Regions from separate parts of the Homo sapiens genome. Here regions 2, 3 and 4 are each linked to region 1. The links are contacts of gene promoters, found by promoter capture Hi-C in blood cells and fetal thymus (Javierre and others, 2016). All regions are on one chromosome and are shown on one strand. Each heading gives the region's core, a stretch centred on a gene start or on the middle of the fragment in contact. The rest is flanking DNA. Distances are from core to core; before and after follow the strand shown.

Region 1 (3,468 bases), core at 77-2,576:
AAGGTACCTCTCTTTCGGGGCTCTATGTGCCTCCGCCCCCTACCCCCAGGATCGAGTGACCAACTCGAAAACACTCAGACTGCAGGCTGCTCTGTGGCATTTTAGATAGAAGCCATTTGCTGCCAAATGGGGGAGGAATCGCCCCCAGCCCCTGGCAGCTTCTGGCTCTCTTCCCGGCCCCTCCACAAATATAGCCCCTGATGTTTCAAAAATTTCTTGTCCAGTCTGTGAAAACCAGAGTTTGGGCTGTGCCTTGACAGCAGTTCTGGCAGATGGATGGGGGAGGGGTGATTTTAAAAGGCCCCTGCCCACACCCAGCAAGCTGGTGTCCCTGTTTCCTGTACCGTGGTGGGGTAGCTGTGCGACATGGGCAGGTTGCTTAGCCTCTCTGTGCGTCCTTTCCTCCGATCTGAAATGGAGGTGCAGTTTGTTGTGAGGATTAAATGAGATGATGCGTTCAGAGAAGCCACACGTGTGAAGAGCCCAGTGCATCTGGCAGCTGGTACCACCAGGACTGCTCACTCTGTGCGACCTTGGACAAGTCGCTCGCCCTCTTCGACCACAGACCTTCTCCTTTGGGAAGTGGGGGAGGCCAGACAAGGCTGGCAGTCAGAAGGAGCTCACTGAAGAGCAGCCACTGTGGTCGTCAGCGAGGGCAGCTGGACTCCGGCACAATCCTGAGACACTGTGACCGCGGAGGTTTTCTCGGTGTGTCGATGGAAGAGGGAGGAATGTGATCCGTCCCAGCCGCCGGCGGGGCCAGAGCATATCTGGTATGTGTCTCTGGAATGATTTGGGGAAAATTAACTGAAGTTGGAACTTAAGACGCAAACTGCCCTGGACACAGAGATACAGAGCTGTCCGTGCGCACACCCCCCACAAAGGGCCGGGGCCGGGGTGGGAGTCGGCTTACAGGGCACAGCGCGGCGCAGGCCCGCCCTGGAATGGCCGTGAACTTGTTGTTTTTCCACGTCATTTGCTCTCAAATGTACTATCAAGCCGGGCGATGCTAACCCGGTGGCTGCAGGTCCCTCCTCGTAACAAGCGATTGTGTGTTCTTTAGAGGTGGCCAAAGGGGAGGAGGGGGCCCGGCCCCAAGGAGGTGGGGGAAAGGGAAACAAGCCCTCCTTCAGAGTGAGCTTGCGTGTCCTGGAGCCAGCTCCCCGCAAAGCACATGCCATTTCTGGCCCTTGAAGGGGTTAAAGGCCTCCTGGAGTCAAAAACAAGCAGGTGTCCCACCGTGCCAGATACGCTGCCTAAACTGCTTCCAGCTTCTTTTTTTTTTTTTCCCCCCTTCTGCAATAAGTCTGTGATCAGCCACGGGACAGAGGCGCCAGCAGCCTGCCTGTGACAGGCATCAGGTTAGCTGGCTCCCACTCGGGTGGCGCGCCCAGGATATAAATCCGGGCGCGGGCCCCTGCTGTGGCTCCTCTCCCTGCACACTCAGGAGAGGGAGCTTCCTTCTAAAGACCTTTCTTTTATCTGAAGCCGCACAGCCCGGCAGGCTGTGCTGACTTGGTGGAGGCAGCAGCGGCAGAGCAGCCTGAGCAGCAGCCTGAGCAGGAAACCTGCTGGGGTGGGGAGGGCAGGTGTCTGCAGCCCCTGAGAAGAAGGCCCTGGTGGGCCCCAGACCCTGGCATCGTTTCAGGGGAGGTCTCTAGCCGCCCCAGCCTGCACCATGTGGGCCCCAAGGTGTCGCCGGTTCTGGTCTCGCTGGGAGCAGGTGGCAGCGCTGCTGCTGCTGCTGCTACTGCTCGGGGTGCCCCCGCGAAGCCTGGCGCTGCCGCCCATCCGCTATTCCCACGCCGGCATCTGCCCCAACGACATGAATCCCAACCTCTGGGTGGACGCACAGAGCACCTGCAGGCGGGAGTGTGAGACGGACCAGGTGAGTGGGGTCCAGAGACCAGAGATGGACCACGTGAGCCTGTGAGTGACGGGGGTGGGAGCCGTCGGGGAGGGACTGTGTGGGAGTGTGAGGAGGACAACGTGAGTGGGGTCCAGAAGCCACAGTGTGAGGCGGACCAGGTGAGTGGTGTCCGGAAGCAGGAGTGTGAGATGGACCAGGTGAGTGGGATCCAGAAGCCACAGTGTGAGGCAGACCAGGTGAATGGGGTCCAGAAGCCGCAATGTGAGATGGACCAGGTGAGTGGTATCTAGAAGTGGGAGTGTGAGGTTGACCAGGTGAGTGGGGTCCAGAAGCCGGTGTGTGAGGCGGACCAGGTGAGTGGGGTCCAGAAGCCACAGTGTGAGATGGACCAGGTGAGTGGGATCCAGAAGCTGGAGTGTGAGGCGGACCAGGTGAGTGGGATCTAGAAGTGGGAGTATGAGGTGGACCAGGTGAGTGGGGTCCAGAAGCCACAGTGTGAGATGGACCAGGTGAGTGGGATCCAGAAGCTGGAGTGTGAGGCGGACCAGGTGAGTGGGATCTAGAAGTGGGAGTATGAGGTGGACCAGGTGAGTGGGGTCCAGAAGCCACAGTGTGAGATGGACCAGGTGAGTGGGATCCAGAAGCTGGAGTGTGAGGCGGACCAGGTGAGTGGGGTCCAGAAGCCAGAGATGGACCATATGAGCCTGTGAGTGATGGGGGTGGGAGCCACAGGGTGGGGACCATGCAGGAGTGCCCTGCAGGTCCTAGGAAGGTGAAGGAACACAGGCCCCGTTCACCTGGAGAGAAACAGGGCACCATCCTGTCTATTAACACCGAAGCCTGGAAGGAGAGGTGGGAGCGATGTCCCAGTTCATCAGGGACTGGAGCCCGAGGATTCCTCCTTCATGCGTGCTGAGGGCTACTGTGGCCAGCACCGTGCCGGGCACGTCGTGTATGTTGGCATGACATGTCAGCATGGTGGGCATCAGCAGCCCATTCACAGGTGAGAGAGTGGACACAGAGCCAGGCACGGAGGGCACAGTTGTCATGGCCAGTGAGGGAACGATGAGCTTGGAACTCATGTCTAACAAGAAAGCTTTGATTGCATTGGACTCCAGGCCACCTCCTCAGGAGTTTGGACCCTGAGCCTGAGAGAAGACCAGGCTGACGGCAGGCCAAGCAGGAGCAGCTCTGAATGGATCTCTGGTGTCCCTGGGAGGAAGGAGACCACGTTTCAGCCTCCCAGCGTCCTTGGTCCTGCCTTCTGCTCTGTATCAGAGGGCACTGCTGCAGGGCAGGGCCAGTTCTCTTCTAGCTCCCGAGTCATTCCCGAGGGCCATTCCTGCCCACCCCCTCTGGGGCAACAGGCTGTGGGACCTACACCTGCTCCAGGCAGAGCTATTTCCTGCCCAGTCTGGCCAGCTCTGAGGGCAGCACGGAGTCTCCCAAGGCTCCAGATCCAGGCTGGGGCATCCCCAGGGAACACGAGAGACACTGGTTCCCCCATAGATGCCTGGTTACCCACAGGAGAGCAGAGGGCTGACCTGGAGAGGGTGGCCTCAACCTCACAGTGCCCAGGGACAATTCTTAGGCCTCCC
Region 2 (3,492 bases), core at 68-2,567, 350 kb after region 1:
GAGGTGGTCTTTTGTGCTAACACATCCACTTGAATCTAGTCCCGTGTTGAGCAATGCTACCTTCTTTCCCAACTTCTTTAGCATACACGGATCTGCTAAATCAGAAGTCAGAAACTGCTTTTTCCACTCCTGCCTGGGCCCTGTGCATTTTTTTTTTTTTTTTTGAGACATAGTCTCACTCCATCACCCAGGCTGGAGTGCAGTGGCATGATCTCAACTTACTGCAACTTCTGCCTCCCGGGTTCAAGTGATTCTCATGCCTCAGCCTCCCGAGTGGCTGGGATTACAGGTGTGTGCCACCATGCCTGGCGAATTCTTTTGTATTTTTAGTAGAGATGGGGTTTTGCCATGTTGGCTGGGCTGGTCTTGAACTCCTAGCCTCATGTGATCCACCCACCTTGGCCTCCCAAAGTGTTTGGATTACGGTGTCAGCCACCGCGCCTGGCCTCTTTATACATTTGAATGGTTCTTTACACATTTGACTGAATATTTCGATACAAGAGATTTCACATGAAAATCTGAAAAGTAGATAGACTTGGAAACATAAGCGCAGCATCCTTAAAGAGCTGTGATCAATGGGAACTGACTGGCTACTTACTACCCCCTGAATCTGGGCAGCCTGAGATCTCTGTCCACCACAGAGCTCACTGCCCAGGTTGCCCACAATACTCACACAGGTAACCACCAGCCCCTGCAGGCATCTGGCTCCAGATCAAGGGTAAAAGTTCTTCATTTTTCTCTATTATGTATCTTTTCATTAATAAATGGAGAGGATACACATATATGGGGTGTAAATTGGAAACTGCTCATACAGAGAAAAAAATCAACTGATGAGAATGAGAACTCAGCAGAGTATCTGGATAGGTAGTATGCCACTTAAGTTTTTCATGAAGCAATGGCAGTGTCATCATGTGGAACAATATTAAAATTGCTACAACTTTTAAAGTCAAATAGTACAGTCAGAAAAATAATTCATGTCTTTATTTTTTTAGTAGAGATGGGGTTTCACCATGTTGGTCAGGCTGGTCTTGAACTCCTGACCTCGTGACCCTCCCACCTTAGCCTCCCAAAGTGCTGGGATTACAGGCGTGAGCCACCGTGCCTGGCCCATGTCTTGATTTTAGTTACAAGCAATTAGTTTAAAAATAATGGCTGCTGACATCTTACTTGCTAATTTAAAGAATAATCTTTTTTTTTTTTTTTTTTTTTTTTAAGATAGTCTCGCTCTGTCACCTAGACTGGAGTGCAGTGGCACAATTTCGGCTCACTGCAACCTCCACCTCCCAGGTTCAAGTGATTCTCCTGCCTCAGCCTCCCAAGTAGCTGGGATTTACAGGCGTGCACCACCACACCTGGCTAATTTTTGTATTTTCAGTAGAGATGTGGTTTCCTCATTTTGGCCAGCTGGTTTCAAACTCCTGATCTCAGGTGATTCACCTGCCTCAGGTGATTCCCCACATGGGATAACCTCCCAAAGTGCTGGGATTACAGGCGTAAGCCACTGCGCCTGGCCAAGAATAATCTTTTGAGAGATGGCAATTTATTTTATTTGGTACTGGTTTTGGTACTGGTGATCAAAAATTTAACAGACCAAAGACAGAAAAGTGAATACGTTATGCATATAATCATAGCAAACACCCATCAGACTGTTCAAAGGTACAGCAAACAAGACTGTGCAGTTAGTTCTTCCTTTCATTAAAAAATTACTTAATATAAATAAAAATGCTTTTATGAGGAATGATATCAAATGCATGACAGTTATCCTTCAAATCTAGCCAGCATGCAGTCATTCAGCGTGAGGGCCATTTTAACAATACCTAGAAAATACACACATGGAAAAGAAAACAAAACCCAAGTTTCATTAAAGGTGCAGTACCCACAATAAAAGGTTGATTAAAACAGTATCTTGTTCTATGATGACTGGATGGCTAAATGAATGAGAAAAGAATTAATGTGCTTCAAGATCAAACATGTTTCATTCAAACGGATGTTTTTTAAAAAAATGTAAGAAAGGTAAGTTGAGATTCTAAAGCATATCTTGAAGCAATATGCATTACTGCTAACAACAAATTTCTGGATTATGCTTCTAGTCATGTTAAAATATGAAAATGATGTGCTAAAAAAAGTCACTCAAGATAAAGGTGAAACACTCACTCAGATGTGCAATGTTTTAATGTAAAGTTTCACTGTTTTCATGGAATCTAAAATAAAGCCTGTCTGGTTATCTTCACATGAATCATTTCTCCTTTCCAGGCCTTCTCAATAAATGATGGATGAAATAAAACAGATCCTGTGGTTGAATGTCACTTTCTACACAAATGCCTTTTCTTTTCTCAGCTCTGTTTTTAGAAGGAAGTCACTTTGTTGACACTAATCACTACCATTTCAGGAGATAAGCTAACTGAAATCATATTTTTCCAGCTACGAAGCCCATAAATAATAAACTCTTTCAACAGCTAATGAAACCATAGCTTTCAGATAGTTAAGGTAGCAATGTAGTCCCTACTTAGTTTCATCAGAGAAAAATCACACCAAGTCCCACAAGTTGTGCCCCAGCTCAGAATATACTATAGACATCGGTGGAAGAAGGAAGTCACATAGGATGCCAGGTAGTTTCCATCTAGTTCGTCTACTCTAAATTCTTGGGTTTTGCCAGTGCCAGAAGTTCCATTTTAAATGAATCAGTAACCTATCACAAAATGTGACATACATCTTCAAAACCAGCCTCATGCTTAAAGAAAATACATCCAAGATCCAATAAAAGCTCAAATATATTTGGAACTCACAATATCCATACTTAATTAAGTAATGCAAGACTATTTCATAAATAAGTGCAAAAAGAAAAAAACTTAGACAAGAAAGGAAACAGGAACGCTCTTTAGACTTTGAACATTTTTCTGTTAAAGAGCAGGTAACACTGGATTTACAATCCTAATTTGTTTTTCGTACAAAAGAAGTAGTGTAATTTCCTCTGGATGTAAGAACATCACAGTGATCTTCAGAGAAAAAGACTGGGAAGGGGGCAAGATGGCCTAATACATTATGAGGGAGGCAAAAGCTAAAGAACATATCCTAAAATGGCAAAAACCACCAAAAAACCAACAACGGAAACAAACAAGAAAACCCCCATAGGTGCAAAAATATTAGCAAACAGAAGAATGAGAAGAAAACAGAGCTAGGTAACAAGTCTCATCTAGGTTTTCAACATACAAGACATTTTAAAGAATGCTCATTACAGAAAACAAGTCTAAAAGCAATAGTTAGCATATGGCAGAACATATGCTAAGGCAGGTATAACTTTGGCTTTGAAGCTGTATGATCTGATCTGTACTCATGCCTGAAGTTCATCATACCTAAGTGAAGTTCTCATGCCCTATGATAATACCATGCTTGTTCTTAGGAATTACAAAGGGCAAAACCTTCTGCAGTCTTCCTTACAATCGACTACCTTGGCCTAACCAATTACACTCGAATCAAATGCCACTGACTAAT
Region 3 (3,226 bases), core at 629-3,128, 370 kb after region 1:
CACCACACCTGGCTAATTTTTGTATGGAGATGGGGTTTTATCATGTTGGCCAGGCTGGTCTTGAACTCCTGACCTCAAGTGATCCACCTGCCTTGGAGTCCCAAAGTGCTGGGATTACAGGCATGAGGCACTGCACGCAGTCTTTATTTTTTTCTTTTTTTTGAGACAGAGTTTTGCTCTTGTTGCCCAGGCTGGAGTGCAATAGCACAATCTCAGCTCACTGCAACCTCTGTGTCTTGGGTTCAAGCATTCTCCTGCCTCAGCCTCCCAAGAACTGGGATTACAGGTGCCTGGCCCCAGGCCCAGCTAATTTTTTTGTATTTTTAGTTTCATCATGTTGACCAGGCTGGTCTTGAACTCCTGACCTCATGATCTGCCCTTCTAAAGTGCTGGAATTACAGGTGTGAGCCACCTGTAATTGTAATAAAAAAAGGGCCCAGCCTTTTTTTTTCTTTTTAACATGATCAAGGTGTTTCAGGAATCACTGTTTTAAAAAAATTTTTTTTTTGAGACAGTCTTGCTTTGTTGCCCAGGATGGAGTGCAGTGGTGCGATCTCAGCTCACTGCAACCTCCCCTTCCTGGGTTCAAGTGATTCTTCTGCCTCAGCCTCCCGAGTAGCTGGGACTACAGGCACCCGCCACCACGCCTGGCTAATTTTTGTATTTTTAGTAAAGATGGGGTCTCACCATATTGACCAGGCTGGTCTCGAACTCCTGACCTTGTGATTCGCCCCCCTCGGCCTGTTTTAAATCTTATTGGGTCATTCTGATCACTAGTGAGGAAAAGAGGAAGAACAGGGTTTGGAGCCAGTCTTGTCCAGCTGTCTGACCATGTGACATGGCAGCCATCATAATTGTTTTCCTTTTTCTTTTTTTCTGTTTTTTTTTTGAGACAGAGTCTCGCTCTGTCACCCAGGCTGGAGTGCAGTGGCACCATCTTGGCTCACTGCAACCTCCACCTCCCGGGTTCAAGTGATTCTCCTGCCGCAGTCTCCTGAGTAGCTGGGACTACAGGTGTGTGCCACCACGCCTAGTTAAATTTTTTGTAGTTTTAGTAGAGACAGGGTTTCACCGTGTTAGCCAGGATGGTCTTGATATCCTGACCTCGTGATCCGCTTGCCTTGGCCTCCCAAAGTGCTGGGATTACAAGTGTGAGCTACCATGCCTGGGCCATCATAATTGTTTTTCTTTTAGCTGAAGGTTTTAAACTGTTGAAATGCAAATCACGATTTAAGTTACACCTTTATGTAAGTAGACTTTCCTTAGGTGGTTCTTGACCATGGCTGTACATGATATTCACCTGAGACCTTAAAAAAATGCCAATGTTAGCCAGGCAGGTGGCTCCTGCCTGTAATCCCAGCTACTCAGGAGGCTGAGGCAGCAGAATTGCTTGAGCTCAGGAGTTCGAGACTATCCTGGGCAACAGTGAGACCCCATTGCTAAGAAAACAACAACAACAAAAAAACTGGTTGGGTGTGGTGGCTTCTGCCTGCAGTACCAGCTGCTCAGGAAGCTGAAGTGGGAGAATTGCTTGAGCTCAAGGCTGTGGTGAGCTATGATCACGCCATTGCACTACAGCCTGGGTGACAGGGCGAGATACCATCTCAAAAAAAAAAAAAAAAAAAAAATGCCACGTACGGTGGCTCATGCCTGTAATCCCAGCACTGTGGGAGGCTGAGGCAGGTGGGTTACTTGAGTCCAGGAATTCGAGACCAGCCCAGGCAACATGGTGAAATCCCATCTCTACAAAATATACAAAAATTAGCCGGGCGTGGTGGCATGCACCTGTAATCCCAGCTACTCAGGGGGCCGAGGCAGGAGGATCACCTGAGCCTGGGAGGCAGAGGTTGCAGTGAGCTGAGATCATGCCACTGCACTCCAGCCTGGATGACAGAGTGAGACCATGTCTTTAAAAAAAAAAAAAATGCTGGGTGCCGTGGCTCATGCCTATAATCCTAGCACTTTAGGAGGATTGCCTGAGCCCAGGAATCTGAGACCAGCCTGGGCAACCTAGGGAGACCCTGTACCTACAAAAATAAAAATAAGAAAATTAGCCAGGCATGATAGGACACACCTGTGATCCCAGCCACTCTGAAGGCTGAAGTGGGAGGGTCACTTGAGCCTGTGATCACACTACTGCACTCCAACCTAGGCGACAGAGAGAGACTGTCTCAAAAAAAAATGAACAAACAAACAAAAAACCCAAGAATTTCTCTTCTAGGTCTTTTTGTAAGAGCAGTTTCAGATGAGGGGGAAAAGAGAAAAGCAGCAAAAACTACTACCAAAAGGAAGAAAAAGGCCTAAAGAGGAAACACAGGAAACTGAAGATAAACTTGGCCTTGTTACAATTCTGAATTGGACTAGCCTTGTCTAGAAGTAACTTAAATAAATATTTTTCCTCTAAATTAGGATATACTTCCATAAATAAGTGTAGCAGACTCAAAATGACAATCTTGACAATAAACTATGTAAGATCAGAGGATTCAAATTTATTTTGAAATTCCTAGCAACCTTCTCCCCAGTGAAGATATACACATACACATTTTATGTCAAAACGAATATGCTTGGGGACTCCTTCTATTAGCTTATACCCAAATCCTATAATTGCATTTCTATATTTTAAAACCTATTATCTTACCTTTCTAATGGTTGCGACACATATTGTAGAAAGATTTAATGGGTCTATAGCTTCCAATTTCATTCCTTCCTTGAACCATTCCCCACTCTGGTCTACTTCTTTTACCTAAAGAATTATATGAAAGCACATCTACTGTTACAAATGTTGTTATTTTGATAATTAAAATATTACCAATGTGAAAAGATTTACCAGGTGCCTTCTCCTACCTACCTAATATTATAACTCAAACTTCCATTAAGGTTTAGAGAGAATTCAGACAAATAGAATTTAAGAATAATTATAATAAAGAGTTGTGACACCTATGAATTTACAAGGTCTTAATTCTTTTAAGTGAACATATGTAATTGTGATTTCCGTAATTTTAGGAAAAAACCCACAACCCTCTTTCAAACCTAATTTACAAATGAGGGTTCTTATAAAAACTTCTTACCTTAGCAAATAAATGTGGTGGTGTATCAAAATGTCCATCCTGTTTCTTTGTAATATCTACAAGGAAAAGTTACACACTAATCTGTCAGCATTTGTGAGAAGACCAAAAACCACGTTCTTTGAAGGCTTCAAACTCACAAAGTATGTCATACTATAAAA
Region 4 (3,483 bases), core at 446-2,945, 390 kb after region 1:
TAAATGAAAACGCAGCCCTGAGAAATAACCATTTTCTTTCTTTTTTTTTTCTTTTTTTAAAAAATGCTTTGAGACAGAGTCTCGCTCTGTCACCCAGGCTGGAGTGCAGTGACAATCTTCGGTCACTGCAACCTCCACCTCCCGCACTCAGATGATCCTCCCACCTTGGCCTCCTGAGTAGCTGGGACTACAGGCAAGTGCCACCATCCCATAAACATTTTTGTGTTTTTTTTTTTGTAGAGATGGGGTTCTGCCATGTTGCCCAGGCTGGTCTTTAATTCCTCGTCTCAAGCAATCTGCCCACTCAAGCCTCCCAGAGTGCTCGGATTATGGATGTGAGCCACCTCCCTGCCTCAAGGGATGTCCTGCCTCTGCATCCCAAAGCACTGGGATGACAGGCGTGAGCCAGTGTGCCTCGCCCAGATTTCTTTTTTCTTTTTAATTATGGGATGGGCGTGGTGGCTCATGCCTATATTCCTAGCACTTTTTTTTTTTGAGACTCGGTCTCACTCTGTTGCCCAGGCTGGAGTGCAGTGGCACAATCTCGGCTCACTGCAACCTCTGCCTCCTGGGTTCAAGTGATTCTCCTGCCTCAGTCTCCTGAGTAGCTGTGATTACAGGTGCATGCCACCACACCCAGCTAATTTTCGTATTTTTAGTAGAGACAGGGTTTTGCCATGTTGGCCAGGCTGTTCTCAAACTCCTGAACTCAGGTGATCCGCCCACCTCGGCCTCCCAAAGTGCTGAGATTACAGGTGTGAGGCACCACACCCAGCCTAATCCTAGCACTTTGGGAGGCCGAGGTGGGATGATAGCTTGAGCCCAGGAGTTTGAGACCAGCCTGGGCAACATGGTGAGACTCCCACTCTACCAAAAAAAAACACAAAAAAACAAAACAAAACAAAAAAACCATATAAAAATAATTGTGGGCCAGGCATGGTGGCTCACTCCTATAATCCCAGCACTTTGGGAGGCCGAGGTGGTCAGAGGAGTTTGAGGAGTTGAGGAGTTTGAGACCAGCCTGGGCAACATGACGAAACCCTGACTCTACAAAAAATGCAAAAATTAGCTGAGTGTGGTGGCACGCATCTGTAGTCCCAGCTATGTGGGAGGATCACTAGAGCCTGGGAGGTGGAGGTTGCAGTGAGTTGAGATCATGCCACTGCACTCCAGCCTGTGTGACAGAGAGAGACCATGTCTCAAAAATAAAATAAAATAAAATAAAAATCGTGGTGAAATATACATAACAAACATGATTTTTAAATTTGCCTTTCATCTCTAAAACTAAACTTCTAGACCAATTTGGAGTATCCAGAAAATATGGATGCTTTTTTTCTTTCTTTTTTTGATGACAGAGTCTCGCTCTGTCACCCAGGCTGGAGTGCAGTGGTATGATCTCAGCTCACTGCAATCTCCATCTCCCAGGCTCATGTGATTCTTGTGCCTCAGTCTCTCGAGTAGCTGGGACTACAGGTGAGTGCCAACATGCCCAGCTAACTTTTGTACTTTTAGTAGAGATGGGGTTTTGCTATGTTGGTGAGGATGGTATTGAACTCCTGGCCTCAAGTGATCGCCTGCCTTGGCTTCCCAAAGTGCTGGGATTACAGGTGTGAGGCACCGCACCCAGCCAACACACAGACGTTTTTAAAAATTGCTTTGGGCTGGGCGCGGTGACTCACGCCTGTAATCCCAGTACTTCGGGAGGCCGAGGCAGGCGGATCACAAGGTCAGGAGATCGAGACCATCCTGGCTAACACGGTGAAACCCCGCCTCTACTAAAAATATAAAAAATTAGTTGGGTGTGGTGCCAGGTGCCTGTAGTCCCAGCTACTGGGGAGGATGAGGCAGGAGAATGGCATGAACCTGGGAGGCGGAGCTTGCAGTGAGCTGAGATTGAGCCACTGCATTCCAGCCTGGGTGACAGAGCGAGACTCTGTCTCCAAAAAAAAAAAAAAAAAAAAAAAAAATTGCTTTGCTGGCTGGGCATGGTGGCTCGCATCTGTAATCCTAGTACTTTGAGAAGTCAAGGCTGGTGGATTGCTTGAGCCCAGGAGTTCAAGACTAGCCTGGGCAATATGGCAAAACTCCATCTCTACAAAAAATACAAAAATTAGCCAAGTGTGGTGGCTTGCACCTGTGGTCCCAGCTACTTGGGAGGCTGAAGTAGGAGGATAGCTTGACCTCAGGAGGTCGAGGCTGCAGTGAGCCACGATCGTGCCCCTGCACTTCAGCTTGGGTGACTGAGTGAGACCCTGTCTCAAACTCAAAACCAAGAACCACTTTGCTTGATACTTTATCATGTTGGAAAAGAAAAAAAAAATCACTGCTAAAAGCTCTGAAGGGTCTAACAGAAAATTTTGCCTTTCAGCTGGGTGCAGTGGCTCACGCCTGTAATCCCAGTACTTTGGGAGGCTGAGGCGGGGAGATCACCTGAGGTCAGGAGTTTGAGACCAGCCTAGTCCACGTGGGGAAATCCCGTCTCTACTAAAAATATATACAAATTAGCCGAGCGTGGTGGTGCATGCCTGTAGTCCCAGCTACTTGGGAGGCTGAGGCACGAGAATCGCTTGAACCCAGGAGGCAGAGGTTGCAGTCAGCCAAGATTGCACCACTGCACTCCAGCCTGGGCGACAGAGCAAGATTCCGTCTCAAGAAAAAAAAAAAAAAAGAAAATTTTACCTTTTACAATTTTAAGATGGCAAATATTTCAGAAATTGTAGGAGATAATATTTCTACATATATATTTATTCAGTTTTTAAAAAAACATAAACAATGGTTTAAAACCCAACCCAATTTTCTCAAGCTAAACAGTATTTCCTCAGAAAACCAAATACCACATGTTCTCACTTATAAGTGGGAGCTAAATGATGAGAACACATGGACACATAGAGGAAACAGCAGACACTGGGGCCTATTGGAGGGTAGAGGGTGGGAGGAGGGAGAGGACCAGGAAAAATAACGAATGAGTACTAGGCTACTAGGCTTAGTATCTGGGTGATGAAATAATCTGTTCGACAAACCCCCATGACACACATTTACCCACGTAGCAAACCTGCACAAGTACCCATGAACTTAAAATAGAAGTATTAAAAAAATTTCCTTTTCAAAGAAAGATACAAAGAAGTTATATCATCTTTAGTGAATGCTGGTCTTATGTCTCCTCCAAGATGTTGCCTCATTCAAACCACGAAAAAAAAAAAAAAACAAGACAAAACTAATATTGCTACTCTAACCATTTCCAAAATAAATTGCATAACTACAGGCTTTGTGAGAAGTGAAAAGAAAATAGGAGACAATAAAAAGGACAAAAAAAAAAAAAAATTGGGAGGCTGGGCGCGGTGGGTCACGCCTGTAATTCCAGCACTTTGGGAGGCTGAGGTCAGGAGTTTGAGACCAGCCTGGCCAATATGGCGAAACCCCACCTCTACTAAAAATACAAAAAAAAATTAGCCGGGAGCAGTGGTAGGCGCCCGTAATCCCAGC

The links. Contacts are between HindIII fragments. The CHiCAGO score rates a contact against its expected background, and 5 or more counts as called.
Region 2: a fragment that was not itself captured here is called in contact with the fragment with the promoter of WFIKKN2 in region 1 in 2 of 17 cell types (neutrophils and activated CD4 T cells); the score reaches 8.0 in neutrophils.
Region 3: a contact is called between a fragment that was not itself captured here and the fragment with the promoter of WFIKKN2 in region 1, in 2 of 17 cell types (neutrophils and activated CD4 T cells). The highest score is 5.8, in neutrophils.
Region 4: a fragment that was not itself captured here is called in contact with the fragment with the promoter of WFIKKN2 in region 1 in 1 of 17 cell types (neutrophils); the score reaches 7.5 in neutrophils.

What each region holds. Positions count from the first base shown.
Region 1 is chr17:50,834,260-50,837,727 of GRCh38, forward strand. It overlaps WFIKKN2 (WAP, follistatin/kazal, immunoglobulin, kunitz and netrin domain containing 2), which reads left to right and starts at 1,327. Exons shown (of 2, transcript NM_175575.6): 1 at 1,327-1,888. The coding sequence starts at 1,679. The HindIII fragment of the contact is 3,752 bases long and covers 1-2,964 here.
Region 2 is chr17:51,181,979-51,185,470 of GRCh38, forward strand. The region is part of intron 16 of MBTD1 (mbt domain containing 1); the gene reads right to left. Among named protein-coding and RNA genes, the nearest start is that of NME2, 17 kb to the left of the region's middle. The HindIII fragment of the contact is 5,892 bases long and covers 1-3,492 here.
Region 3 is chr17:51,198,954-51,202,179 of GRCh38, forward strand. MBTD1 (mbt domain containing 1) reads right to left here. Exons shown (of 17, transcript NM_017643.3): 11 at 3,069-3,124; 12 at 2,639-2,743. Among named protein-coding and RNA genes, the nearest start is that of NME2, 34 kb to the left of the region's middle. The HindIII fragment of the contact is 4,729 bases long and covers 1-3,226 here.
Region 4 is chr17:51,225,302-51,228,784 of GRCh38, forward strand. The region is part of intron 2 of MBTD1 (mbt domain containing 1); the gene reads right to left. Among named protein-coding and RNA genes, the nearest start is that of MBTD1, 33 kb to the right of the region's middle. The HindIII fragment of the contact is 9,545 bases long and covers 1-3,483 here.